2 separate regions of the Homo sapiens genome follow, and region 2 is linked to region 1. Evidence: promoter capture Hi-C in human tissues and cell types (Jung and others, 2019). All regions are on one chromosome and are shown on one strand. Each heading gives the region's core, a stretch centred on a gene start or on the middle of the fragment in contact. The rest is flanking DNA. Distances are from core to core; before and after follow the strand shown.

What was found. The method cuts DNA at HindIII sites, captures the fragments that hold promoters and counts their contacts. A contact is called where the count stands out against the background at its distance.
Region 2: a fragment that was not itself captured here is called in contact with the fragment with the promoter of MLEC in region 1 in 1 of the 25 tissues and cell types used here (spleen).

Annotation. Positions count from the first base shown.
Region 1 is chr12:120,684,044-120,689,830 of GRCh38, forward strand. It overlaps MLEC (malectin), which reads left to right and starts at 3,106. Exons shown (of 5, transcript NM_014730.4): 1 at 3,106-3,488. The coding sequence starts at 3,254. It overlaps LOC105370029 (a long non-coding RNA gene), which reads right to left and starts at 3,106. Exons shown (of 3, transcript XR_945449.3): 1 at 2,811-3,106. RefSeq lists silencers at 1,021-1,110, 2,225-2,324, 3,165-3,464 and enhancers at 2,485-2,594, 2,685-2,814, 2,909-3,410. The HindIII fragment of the contact is 30,224 bases long and covers 1-5,787 here.
Region 2 is chr12:122,064,156-122,069,942 of GRCh38, forward strand. LINC02985 (long intergenic non-protein coding RNA 2985) reads left to right here. Exons shown (of 4, transcript NR_135044.1): 2 at 395-527; 3 at 3,873-4,036; 4 at 4,134-4,405. Among named protein-coding and RNA genes, the nearest start is that of LINC02985, 3.8 kb to the left of the region's middle. RefSeq lists enhancers at 1-202, 153-382, 523-572 and a silencer at 1-112. The HindIII fragment of the contact is 6,864 bases long and covers 1-5,787 here.

The sequences.
Region 1 (5,787 bases), core at 1,856-4,355:
GTGTGTGTGTGTGTGTGTGTATATATATATATATTTTTTTTTTGAGACTGGATCTCACTCTGTCACCCAGGCTAGAGTGCAGTGGTGCGATCTCGGCTCACTGTAACCTCTGCCTCCCGGGTTCAAGCGAGTCTCCTGCCTCGGCCTTCCGAATAGCTGGGATTACAGGTGCGCCCCACCATGCCCAGCTAATTTTTGTATTTTTAGTAGAGACAGGGTTTTTCCATGTTGGTCAGGCTGGTCTCGAACTCCTGGCCTCAAGTGATCCACCCACCTCAGCCTCCCAAAGTGCTGGAATTACAGGCATGGGCCACTAGGCTGGCCAATACTGTGTTTATACTGTATCTGTGTTTAGATACGCAAATACTTACCATTGTGTTCAACTGTCTACAGTATTCAGTAAGGTAACATGCTGTAGAGGTTTGTAGTGTAGGAGCTATCAGCTATACCATATAGCCTAGGTGTATAGCAGGCTATCCCCATCTAGGTTTGTGTAAGTACACTCTGTGATCTCTGCACAATGACAAAATCGCTTAATGATGCATTTTTCAGAACGCATCCCTGTCATTAAGTGACTCATGACTGTATCTCTATTTCACAACTGAGGAAACTGAAACTCAGCGAAGTACATCACTTGCCCAAGGCCACACAGTGGGTAAATGGGACTAGGCATGGGATGCAGGCAGCCTGTCTTAGATCCCACGCTCGGATCCCATACCCTGCCTCCAGGGTCTCAGACTTTACGTTTTACTGAAAAGACAGCCTAATTCATGAGCAGCTGGATCTCAGAAAGGGAGCCAAGCTCCTTGGTACACAGATGGCCCAACCACGAATGGTATCTGAAGGGCTCAATAACAGGAGCCAGCCGGGTATCTTCTTCACCCTCTGGGGTGACCAAAGACACGAAGGACTGAGAGAAAGCCTTTAGAGGCCTCCCCCAAAATTTAATCCGTTTTTGTGATTGTTTCTCCTGGACTAGACTGCCTTGAGGATAAAATAAACATGAGCGCCTGGTGGCAGTGCAATACCTGAGTGGTACGTGGGCTCTGCAGGCCAACTGCCTGGAGGGAGGAAGCCCCATCACCACTACTTGTGTTTCTGTTCCCCATTTGCACCACACCCCTCCTTTGAGGGTAACTGAAGCCTCTGAGTTGTCAAGATCCTTAAAAGATGACAGTTTGAGAGAGAGAATAGTAGAATTAGAAACCCCAAGAGGCCAGGTGTGGTGGCTCACACCTGTAATCCCAGCACTTTGGGAGGCCGCGGACCCCGAGGTCAGGAGATCGAGATCATCCTGGCCAACATGGTGAAACTCGGTCTCTAATAAAAATAAAAAAAACTAGTTGGGTGTGGTGGCGCGCGCCTGTAGTCCCAGCTACTCAGGAGGCTGAGGCAGCAGAATCGCCTAAACCCGGGAGGTGGAGGTTGCCATGAGCCGAGATTGCACCACTGCACTCCAGCCTGGCGACAGAGCAAGACTCTGTCTCCAAAAAAGACAGAAAAAAAAAAAAAAAGAAACACCTTGGACAGGAAACATGTCTATGGGAGGAAGTAAGGCCAGATGCTTGCAAAATAGGGGGGAAAGTGAGACCGGGAGGGAACACTTCCAAAAGTTACCCCCATGGGGTCTGAATTTGGGGCCTGGGAAGGAATTTGGGTGCATTTAGATCCACCACTGATAGTCTCTATTTTGGCACCCTGTTTTGTTCCCGTATAGCACTTACCACTGTTCTAACTAAACAATTAATTTCATTATGGGTTGTGCAAAGTCTATGATTCTCATGCGGGACCCCAGGTGTGTTTTTTGTTCATGTAGCACAAAGCTCATTGCCTAAGTAGTAGGTAGGATTGGTAGATAAAATACAAGAAGTCCAGTTGTTTAAATTTTAATAAACAATGCATTTTTTTTTTTAGTATAAGTGGGTCCCATTTGCTTATCTGAAATTCAAATATAACTGGGCTTCTCCTATTTTATCTGCCAAATCTGACAACCCTGGTAGCAGGGACTTGATACATTTTTTTCCTTTTAGGGAGAATTTCTAAATCGACCAGTATTTATGGAAAATGCATAAGCGTTTTTTTGTTTTTTTTGTTTTTGCCTTGACTCTGCCCTACACTTGCGGTGCGACCCTTTGGCAAAATTCAGTCCCTTTCTATGCCTCAGTTTCCCCATCGGAAAAATGGGAGTTTGAACAGCGACCGAAGCGCAGGGATCGCCAGTGTGGGAGAGCGCCAGGTGAACTGTGAAGGAGCAGGGAGGGAGTTCGGGCCGTGCCCGTGCGGGACAACCCCGGTATCCACTCTGGGCACCGCCGGCGGCGACTCCCGCCAGCGCCTAGGGTGCCTCGGTCCCGCCCCTACGCAGCGGAGGCCGGCCAGAGGCCGTCGCCATGGAGACGCGAGCAGCCTGGCACCCACTCGCTCTCAAAGCCACGCGTTTCCGCTGCGTTGGAGCCTTCTCATTGGACGGCCGTCTGGACGCTACCACCCGCCCCGAGCCCGCTAAGGGGAGGGGGCGGGGCCTTATTCTCATGGGATTCGTTCCCTGGAGACCTGTGTCCGCGGCCTCTCTGGGAAAGCATGGGTCCTCTCCCTCACGCGGGGAAAAGGACTGCGTCTCTTAGGTCTGGAGAGTGTCCATTGCTTCTCCTACTAGAATTTATGCTCATGCTGCTCCCTGAGAAAAGAAGAGGGGGCGGGAAAGTCGGCCACGCCCCCTCCAGAGCCTATTTGGTCTCAGGAGCTAGAGCACCGGAAGTGCTGGCGACATGTCAGTGCGCCCTACCCTAAACCTTCCCCCCCCAGGCCACCTTTCCCATTCAGCTGTGGGATTCCGGGGCCGCCTGGGCGCTGCACCCGCCACTTCCGCATCGAACCGCCGCTTCAACCGAACTCACTCCCTCTGCGCGCGCTCCATCTGGTGCCCGACTGCTGGGCCGGCGCCTGGGAGAAGCCACGCCCTTTCCCGCGCCTGACAGCCAATGAGCGGGCGCCTCCCGGCGGGGTGGTGGGTAATTAATGAGGGCCGGGCGCTGATTGGCTGCAGCGTCGTGGCCGGGGGCAGGGCGGCGGGGTAGGTTGTTCCTGAGGTGGGAGGCGGTACCCGTGGCTGAGAAGAAGGAGGCCTGAGAGCGACATGTCCCCGGCGGCTCAGGCGGAGCGGCCCGTGGCGCTGTTTTTCTGAGTCCGGGGTGGCCTGGCAGCCGGCCGAGGACGAGGGTCGGCGGGGGCTGCCCCCGTGGTGGTGGCCGCCATGCTGGGAGCCTGGGCGGTTGAGGGAACCGCTGTGGCGCTCCTGCGACTGCTGCTGCTGCTGCTGCCGCCGGCGATCCGGGGACCCGGGCTCGGCGTGGCCGGCGTGGCCGGCGCGGCGGGGGCCGGGCTGCCCGAGAGCGTCATTTGGGCGGTCAACGCGGGTGGAGAGGCGCATGTGGACGTGCACGGGATCCACTTCCGCAAGGACCCTTTGGAAGGCCGGGTGGGCCGAGGTGAGAGTCCCCCTGCCGAGCCGCGGGATCCAGGGCCTGCTGTGCTGGGCGCAGCCGGCCGGGGGCTGCGGGCCCCGAGCCCCTTTCGACCCTGGGGCCGCGTCTCTGGAGCGAAGTTTCTCTCTGCAGCTTCTTCGGGGGCCCGCTCTGAGCTCAGGGCCTGGCACTGGCTCCAAGGTACCTAGAGTCATACAGGCAGAGAGTTGGCCAGAAGTTAGTTATATTTGGATTTCTCATCCTGCATTTTCTCAACCCCTCACTCCCATCCAAGCTGGGAGAGAAATGACGAAGGCGGCCTTTTGCTACCTCCAGGCCTCGCGGGTTGTAGGTCATGGGTGCCCCTGCTTCTCCTGTCGAGACAGTTCTTGGGAGATTCTCGTCGACCCAGGAATCGGCCGCTTTCCTTGCCCCTTCTGCAGGAGCGGGGCTTGATTCTTAGCCAGAATAGGAAGGAATCTTCGAAGAGAATGGGCCAGGAAAGTTTGATTGTAGCCTCCTCCCCCGCCCTCTTTTCGAGCGAAGAATATGTGTGCTTAAAAGTAGAATCGGCAGGCCGCCCCCAGAGGGTGGTTCTATCGAAGCCATCCTGCACGTGAGGCTGGTGGCTGTGTGTGAACTGGGTCAACCAGTGTAAGAATCCGAATGGTCTATCAGAGAATGCTTACAACCTCCCCTAGGTGATCCTGAGAGTTCTAATTCCAGCTTAGGGGGAAAATGATTGTGACTTAACTTGCTGGGCAACAGTGGTTTTTAACGGAGCTGCTCCCTTCCCAAAGTTAGTGTGTGTCAGAATTGCCAGGGCAGCTGGTTAAAAATGCAGATTCCTAGTCCCCACTCGAAATTGATTATAGTAGATTGAGCTTTTTTGCTGGGATCCAGGTTTCTGCACCAGGGGCTTGTGATGTAGGTTGCCCCGAGACCACCGTTTTGGAAGATCAGCTTTATAATCTTTGTTTCTTCTGTTGGAGGGATTGGAAAACAGGTTTCAGAAGGAAGTTCTTTGCTAGGAGATTGATACTGTATGCTGGGTTCAGAGGCTACCAAATTGGCAGTATGCCACCTCCAGACAACCAGGAGACAGACTCACTCTTCACTTTCTCTCATTCTTTTTCTGCGATGCCCAGATTTGGCTCTTGCTTTTACTAAAATAGTTAGTTCTTCCCAAGTCGATTGCAGTGTCCTGGAGTTTGTTATATTAAGGAGTTTATTGCCTTTCACACATGTGAGGGTCTTGGGACACAGGGCTGTTTTGTGAAGTTCTATGTTTGTCTTGGAGTTTGTTGAGCCCTGGCATGTAGATCACAGTAGCCTGGGTTCAGCTGACTCAGGGCTCCAGTCTTTAGCAGCGGTAACAGCAGCCAAAGCCAGACTTTATAGCAGGAGGTCATTACTATCTCTATCCTGGACCCTTCCTCTTTCTTCACGAGTGTGGGCAGGGAGGAAAGAGCCCTTGAGGAAACTAGACAGTTTGTGGACTTTGCCTCTTGAGATAGCGGTGGTGAGGGTGCTGAGCGGATGGTTTCTTTCACTTAGCAGATACCAGGCCTTACATTGGTTACATCGTCCTATTCAGTCTGTTGTGCAGAGAATAAAGCCGAGTAAGACCACACAGGTTTAGTTCCCAGATACTGCCCTTATTCAGAAATTCTGGTTTTAATTTGCTGATGCAGGTGGTGTGTGTGTGTGTGTGTGTGTGTGTGTGTTTCTTTGGCTTGGTCAGCAGTCAGCCAAGATCTGTGTCCTTGGGTTATTGGCTCATGGTTGCAGTTCCTTGGAAGGAGTTTATTGTAGCAGGTAAAATTACATGAGACCTACCAAAGCTTGTGTGTACTGGAGTCCTATTTCGGACACTGGCCCTTGGGGCATTGTATAAATGAAGGTTCCCTGCTAAGGTTCCCCTCTCCATTCTACCAATCTGGGTAAGAATTGGAGCAGTATTAAGGCATGGATGGGGAGTGGGAGGTGGCGCTTGTCAGCTGCAGTTTGGACCAGCTTGTTGCAACATTGCGCTTACCAGGTTCCTGAGAAAGGCATTTTGCTGGCTTTAGGTCGGGCTGAGATGCGCATAAGCTTGCACTCTCAGGAGGCAGCTCTCTACTAAGGAGTCAGTCCTACCAAGGGAAGTCCAGCTGTTCACACTGCCTTTCTTCTGGGCCTGTTTGGATAAGGGTGTGCCAGGTATTTGAAGACCCTTGCCTCGTGCAGCTATTTACACTGATTGCAGTAGGAACTGTATGCCTTATTTCTTTTCCCGCCTGCCTGTGATATTGTTTCCAGCATGCTGAGAAAAGTTGATTTT
Region 2 (5,787 bases), core at 1,911-4,410, 1.4 Mb after region 1:
CGTCCTTAAGTGGGGCGGGCACTTAGCCCAGGGTGGTGATATGACCCAGTCCTATCCAATCACCATGGTCCCGCCTCCTGGCTACCACAATTGGCTCAGGGATGAGCACGTGGCCCATAGCAGCCCAGTGAGAGTCAGCCCTGGGTGGGAACTGGTGGGAAAGAATTCTGCTGGAGCATCTGGAGTTGCTCAAATGGAGTGGCTGTGGCCATCTTTCCTTACACGTGGGGAGGAATCAGCCTGAGAATGAAACCATCACAGGAAAGGGCTGAAAGACGGTGAGTGTGTGCTTTCTAAGGGCAGCATTTGGGCCTTGGCCCCAGCCGGCCCTGAAGCCAGCACAACCCCCGGAACGTCTCAATTTGTGAGCCAATAAATGCCCTTGATGGTTTAGGCAAGTTTTCACTGGGTCTTACCCGACGTGAGCCCCCACTCCTCCATATGGACCTGTTTTGGACCAATGAGGCATCCTCTTCTGTAGTCCTCAACACGCGGAGCTCCACCACTCCTGAGCAGTGTGACCTCAGGCAAGTATCTTAACCTCTCTGGGTCCCTGTTTCCTCATCTGTATAATGAGGACAATAATAATGCCTACCAGGGTTGTTGTGAGGATTAAATGAATACGTGTAAAGCGCTCAAGGCAGGCCCAGGCACACAGTGAATCTCAAATGTTAACTGCTATTTTATAGTTATTATCCTCGCGCACCTCTAGCTTTAGAAGACCAGTTCCGAGAGCAGGAGGCACAGGGAAGGGAAGAATGGCCCTCCCCTGGTTGCCTTGGGTTTGCCCTCAGTTACACTTTGCTCTCTGAAGACCCACCTCTTCCCCAAGTGATTGACACTGGAGTCATCCGCACAGCATGCTCCAGATGCGGCACAGCCTGAGTCAGGCCTTGTGGGATGCGCCCACCCGGGAACAGGAAGGAGAGACGTGCCTGACTGAGCAGAGGGCTGGAGGTCAGACAACACGTCCCTGCCCTGGGCACTGGCTGCTCAGTCATTAAAACAGACCCAAATAGCTTCTGGCCAGGGGCTCAAAGGAACAGCCTGTTAGAGACTCAGTTTTCCAGTCTCTCTTCACTGTTGTTCTCTCTCCACAGGTGGGGTTGGGGAGAGGCCTCGGGATGGCAAGGACCAGGGTCTGCGGCCAAGCCTGTGGGTCCTGTCTCCCTCTAGGATGCCCCTGGGACACTGGTACCCATGGATGCACTGGGTGACTTGAGGTCAATGGCTTTCTCTCTCCAGACCTAGGCAGAAAAAGCAATCTGCTTTGCATCAGAGAACCTCAAGAGGCTCTTAATCCTGCTCTTTTCTCCCTCTGGGCTCCCTCCGTGATGAGCTCATCTGACCTCCTGGCAACCCCGAAGGGTGGTTTAGAGCAGGGAATCAGCCTCCCGATTTACAGAAAGGATAACTCAGGCCAGGGAAGCGACTTGGACAGGGTCCTGCAGGGACTCAGTGAAGGAGGCTTCGGAACCCAGCCTGTCTTCCAGCAGGCCAGGAATCAGCAAATCTGGCTACCTGTTTTTTTATTTTTATTTATTTATTTATTTTGAGACAAAGTCTCGCTCTTGTCATCCAGGCTGGAGTGCAATGGCATGATCTCGGCTCACTGCAACCTCCGCCTCTGGGGCTCAAGCGATTCTCCTGCCTCAGCCTCCTGAGTAGCTGGGATTACAGGTGCCTGCCACCACGCCCAGCTAATTTTTGTATTTTTAGTAGAGATGGGGTTTCACCATGTTGGCCAGGCTGGTCTTGAACTCCTGACCTCAGGTGATCTGCCCGCCTTGGCCTCCCAAAGTGCCGGGATTACAGGCCTGAGCCACTATGCCCAGCCCACCTGATTTTTTTAAAATAAAGTTTTATTGGAACAAGCCATGCTTATTCATTTACATATTGTTCCTGGCTGCTTTCACCATGCAACAACAGAGTTGAATACAGATGCTCTTCAATTTACAGTGGGGTTACTTCCCAGTAAGCCCATAAATTGGCCTGTGGTCCCAGCTAACTTGAAAGGCTGAGTGGGAGAATCACTTGAGCCTGGGAGGTCAAGGCTGCAGTGAACCCTGATGGCGCCACTGCACTCCAGCCTGGGTGACAGAGTGAGACCCTGAGTGAGGGTCCCAAGTAGCTGGAAGCCTACAGGTGCATTCCGCCATGCGCGGCCCTTTTTTTTTTTTTTTTTTTTTTTTGGTAGAGACTGGATTTTACCATGTTGCCCAGGCTGCTGTTGAACTCCTGGCTTCAAGTGATCCTCCTACCTTGGCCTCTGTAAGCATTTACAGGGATTACAGGCATGAGCCACTGTGCCCAGCCCTGAATATTTAATCAACATGTAAGGGTGTAGCTCAATGATTTTTCACCCACTGAACACACCTGCATGACTTGCATCTGCATCAATAAACAGAATATCACTAATCCCCAGTCCCCTTCTTATCCCTGTCTAGTCACTACCCCTCGAAGTGTGGCCGACACCCTGACTTCTACCTGCACCGATTTCTTTGGCTTATTTTTTAGCTTTACATACACAGAATGATGTAGTGTGTGCTCTTGTGTGTCTAGCTTCTTTCACTCAACATGGTATTTGTGAGATTCAGTACTGCTGTGTGAGACTGTATGTCATTCATTCTCATTGCTGGAGAATATTCCGTGGGATGAGTGTACCACAATGTGCTTATCCATTCTTTGGACATTTGAGATATTTCCAGCCAGGGTGGTGGGGAGAATTATGAATTCTGGAGGATCGCTTGAGGCCAGGATTTCAAGACCAGCCTGGGCAACATAGCCAAACCCCATCCCAAAAAAAATTTAAAAATTAGCCAAGCATGTGATACACACCTTTAGTCCCAGCTACCCAGGAGGCTGAGGTGTGAGGATCGCTTGAGCCCAGGAGTTGGAGAGTGCAGTAAGCCAAAATTGTGCCACTGCACTCCAGCCTGGGCAACAGAGCAAGATCTTATCTAAAAAAAAAACGAAACAAAAAAATGGCCTGGCAAAATCTTTGTGACTTTGGTTAGCGAAAGCTTTTTGCTAAACGTTTGCCTAACCCCCTCCCCACCGAACAAAAAAAAAACTTCTTTTTGCCTGTAAATCCATCACTTTGGGAGGCTGAGGCAGGCAGATCACTTGAGGTCAGGAGTTTGAGAACCAGCCTGGGCAACATGGTGAAACTCTGTCTCTACCAAAATACAAAAGTTAGCCGAGTGGCCGGGCATGGTACACCTGTGATCCCAGCACTTTGGGAGGCCAAGGTGGGTGGATCATCTGAGGTCAGGACTTTGAGACCAGCCTGGCCAACATGGTGAAACCCCATCTCTACTAAAAGTACAAAAAATTAGCCAGGAGTGGTGGTGGGCGCCTGTAATCCCAGCTATTTAGGAGGCTGAGGCAGGTGAATTGCTTGAACTTGGGAGGCGGAGGTTGTAGTTAGCTGAGATTGCTCCACTGCACTCCAGCCTGGGCAAAAAGAGTGAGACTCTGTCTCAAAAAAAAAAAAGTTAGGGCCAGGCATGGTGGTGCGCACCTGTAATCCCAACTATTCAGGAGGCTGAGGCCCCAGAATCACTTGAACCCAGGAGATGGCGGTTGCAGTGAGGCGAGATTGCGTCACTGCACTCTAGCCTGGGTGATGAAGTGAGATTCTGCCTCAAAAAAAAAAAAAAAAAAATTCCAAACCCACACCCATCTATTTCTTCACCCTTCTGTGCCTCAGTTTTCTTATGTGTAAGATAAAGGTAACTGTCCCTGACCTGCCCACCTCCCAGGGTTGTGTGGGAACCAGTTAGATCTGGACCTTTGAGGAAGGCTGTACAAACTGTTGAGGGCTTTTCAGCCATGAAACTCTTCTGCCCGTACCCCATAAATACAATTAGGTGCTTGCTGCAGAGGCATCGGGGGTCTCTGGCCAGAGGTGACATCTGAAGCAATCGGGATCCTGTTTGGTTTTGCCACATCCGACCTGCCGCCCAGCTGGGGCAAGACAGCCACGCGCGGCGGATGCACCGGCCCTGAACTCTTTCTCGAGTAGTCCCCAGAGGTAGCTGCTGCCTTTCAGTTTCTGCACTTGTTTATTTTCAAAGGGACGTTGCCAGACCACGAGGCCACCCTGCCCTTTCATGGTTTGTTTTATGCAGATTTCAGGAAGAGAGAGAAGAGGTAAAGAGACCAGAAACAAAGTCTTCTGCAAGCAAAGAACTGCAACAGGCCCCAGCTGTTAGGTTTGAGGGGCGTATGGGGCAGGCGACTGAACTGCAGAGTTGGAGCCAGAGGTACCATTGCTGACCCCTGAGCCCAGGAGCCTTGAGAATACTGACAGTGTTAATAATAACTGCAATCATCCAACATATGATGCTAGAATAACTGGACATCTGTGTGCAAAAATATTAAACCTATACCTTGCACCTTATCACAAAATTCACTCAAAATAGATCATAGACCAAAATGTGAAACATAAAACTAAGACTTCCAGGGGAAAACAGGAGAAAATCTTTGTGACTTTGGGGTTAGGCAAAGCTTTTTGCTAAAGACATTGATAAGAGATTGAAAAAACAAGCAGATTGCCAGATGATCTTTGCAAAACATGTATCTGATAAAAGACTTGTAGCCAGAACATATAAAGAACTCTCTTTTTTTCTTCGTTGTTCTTTTTTTTTTTTTTTTGAGATGGAGTCTCACTTTGTCGCCCAAGCTAGAGTGCAGTGGGGCAATCTCAGCTCACTGCACCCTCTGCCTCCTGGGTTCAAGCAATTCTCCTGCCTCAGCCTCCCAAGTAGCTGGGATTATAGGGCATGCGCCACCATGCCCAGCTAATTTTTTTTTTTTTTTTTGAGACGGAATCTCGCTCTTATTGCCAGGCTGGAGTGCAGTGGTGCGATCTTGGCTCACTGCAACCTCCAACTCCCTGGTTCAAGCGATTCTCCTGCCTCAGCCTCCCGAGAACCTGGGATTACAGGCACACTCCACCACGCCCAGCTAATTTTTATATTTTTGGTAGAGATGGGGTTTTGCCATATTGGCCAGGCTGGTCTCGAACTCCTGACCTCAAGCAATCCGCCCATCTCGGCCTCCCAAAGTGCTGGGATTACAGGTGTGAGTCACCACACCCAGCCTCTTTTTCCTTTTCTTTCTTTCTTTTTTTTTTTTTGAGACAGGGCCTTGCTCTGAGCTGGAGTGCAGTGGTGTGATCACGGCTCACTGCAGCCTCAACCTCCCGGGCTCAGGTGATCCACCCACCTCAGTCCCCCAGGTAGCTGTGATCATGCCACTGCACTCCAGCCTGGGCGACAGAGCAAGACCCTATCTCTAAATTTTAAAAAAGTGCAAAAATCTGGATGTAAATATTTACACTGGTCTTATTCATAACCACCAAAAACTAGAAACAACTAAAATGGCTTCAACTGGTAAATGTATAAACACGCAGTGGTACGTTCATAAAATGAAATACTATGCAGCAATAAAAAGGAATGAGCTACAGATACATGCAGCAGCAGGGCAGAATCTCAGATGTATTATGCTAAGTGAGAGAAGCCACACTCAAGGCTACTTTTTGAAGGATTCTGTTCCGGAAAAGGCAAAACAATGGGAACAAGAAACAGATGGGTAGTTGCCAGGGACTAGAATGCAGAGAGGGACTGACTACAAAGGGCAAGTGGGAACTGGGGGTGACGATGGGTACTGGAACTGGTGTGTGTGTGTGTGTGTGTGTGTTTGTGTTTGTATACGTGTCTATGTATGTATATGCGTGTGTGTATATTTTTTAAGAGACAAGGTCTTGTTCTGTCATCCAGT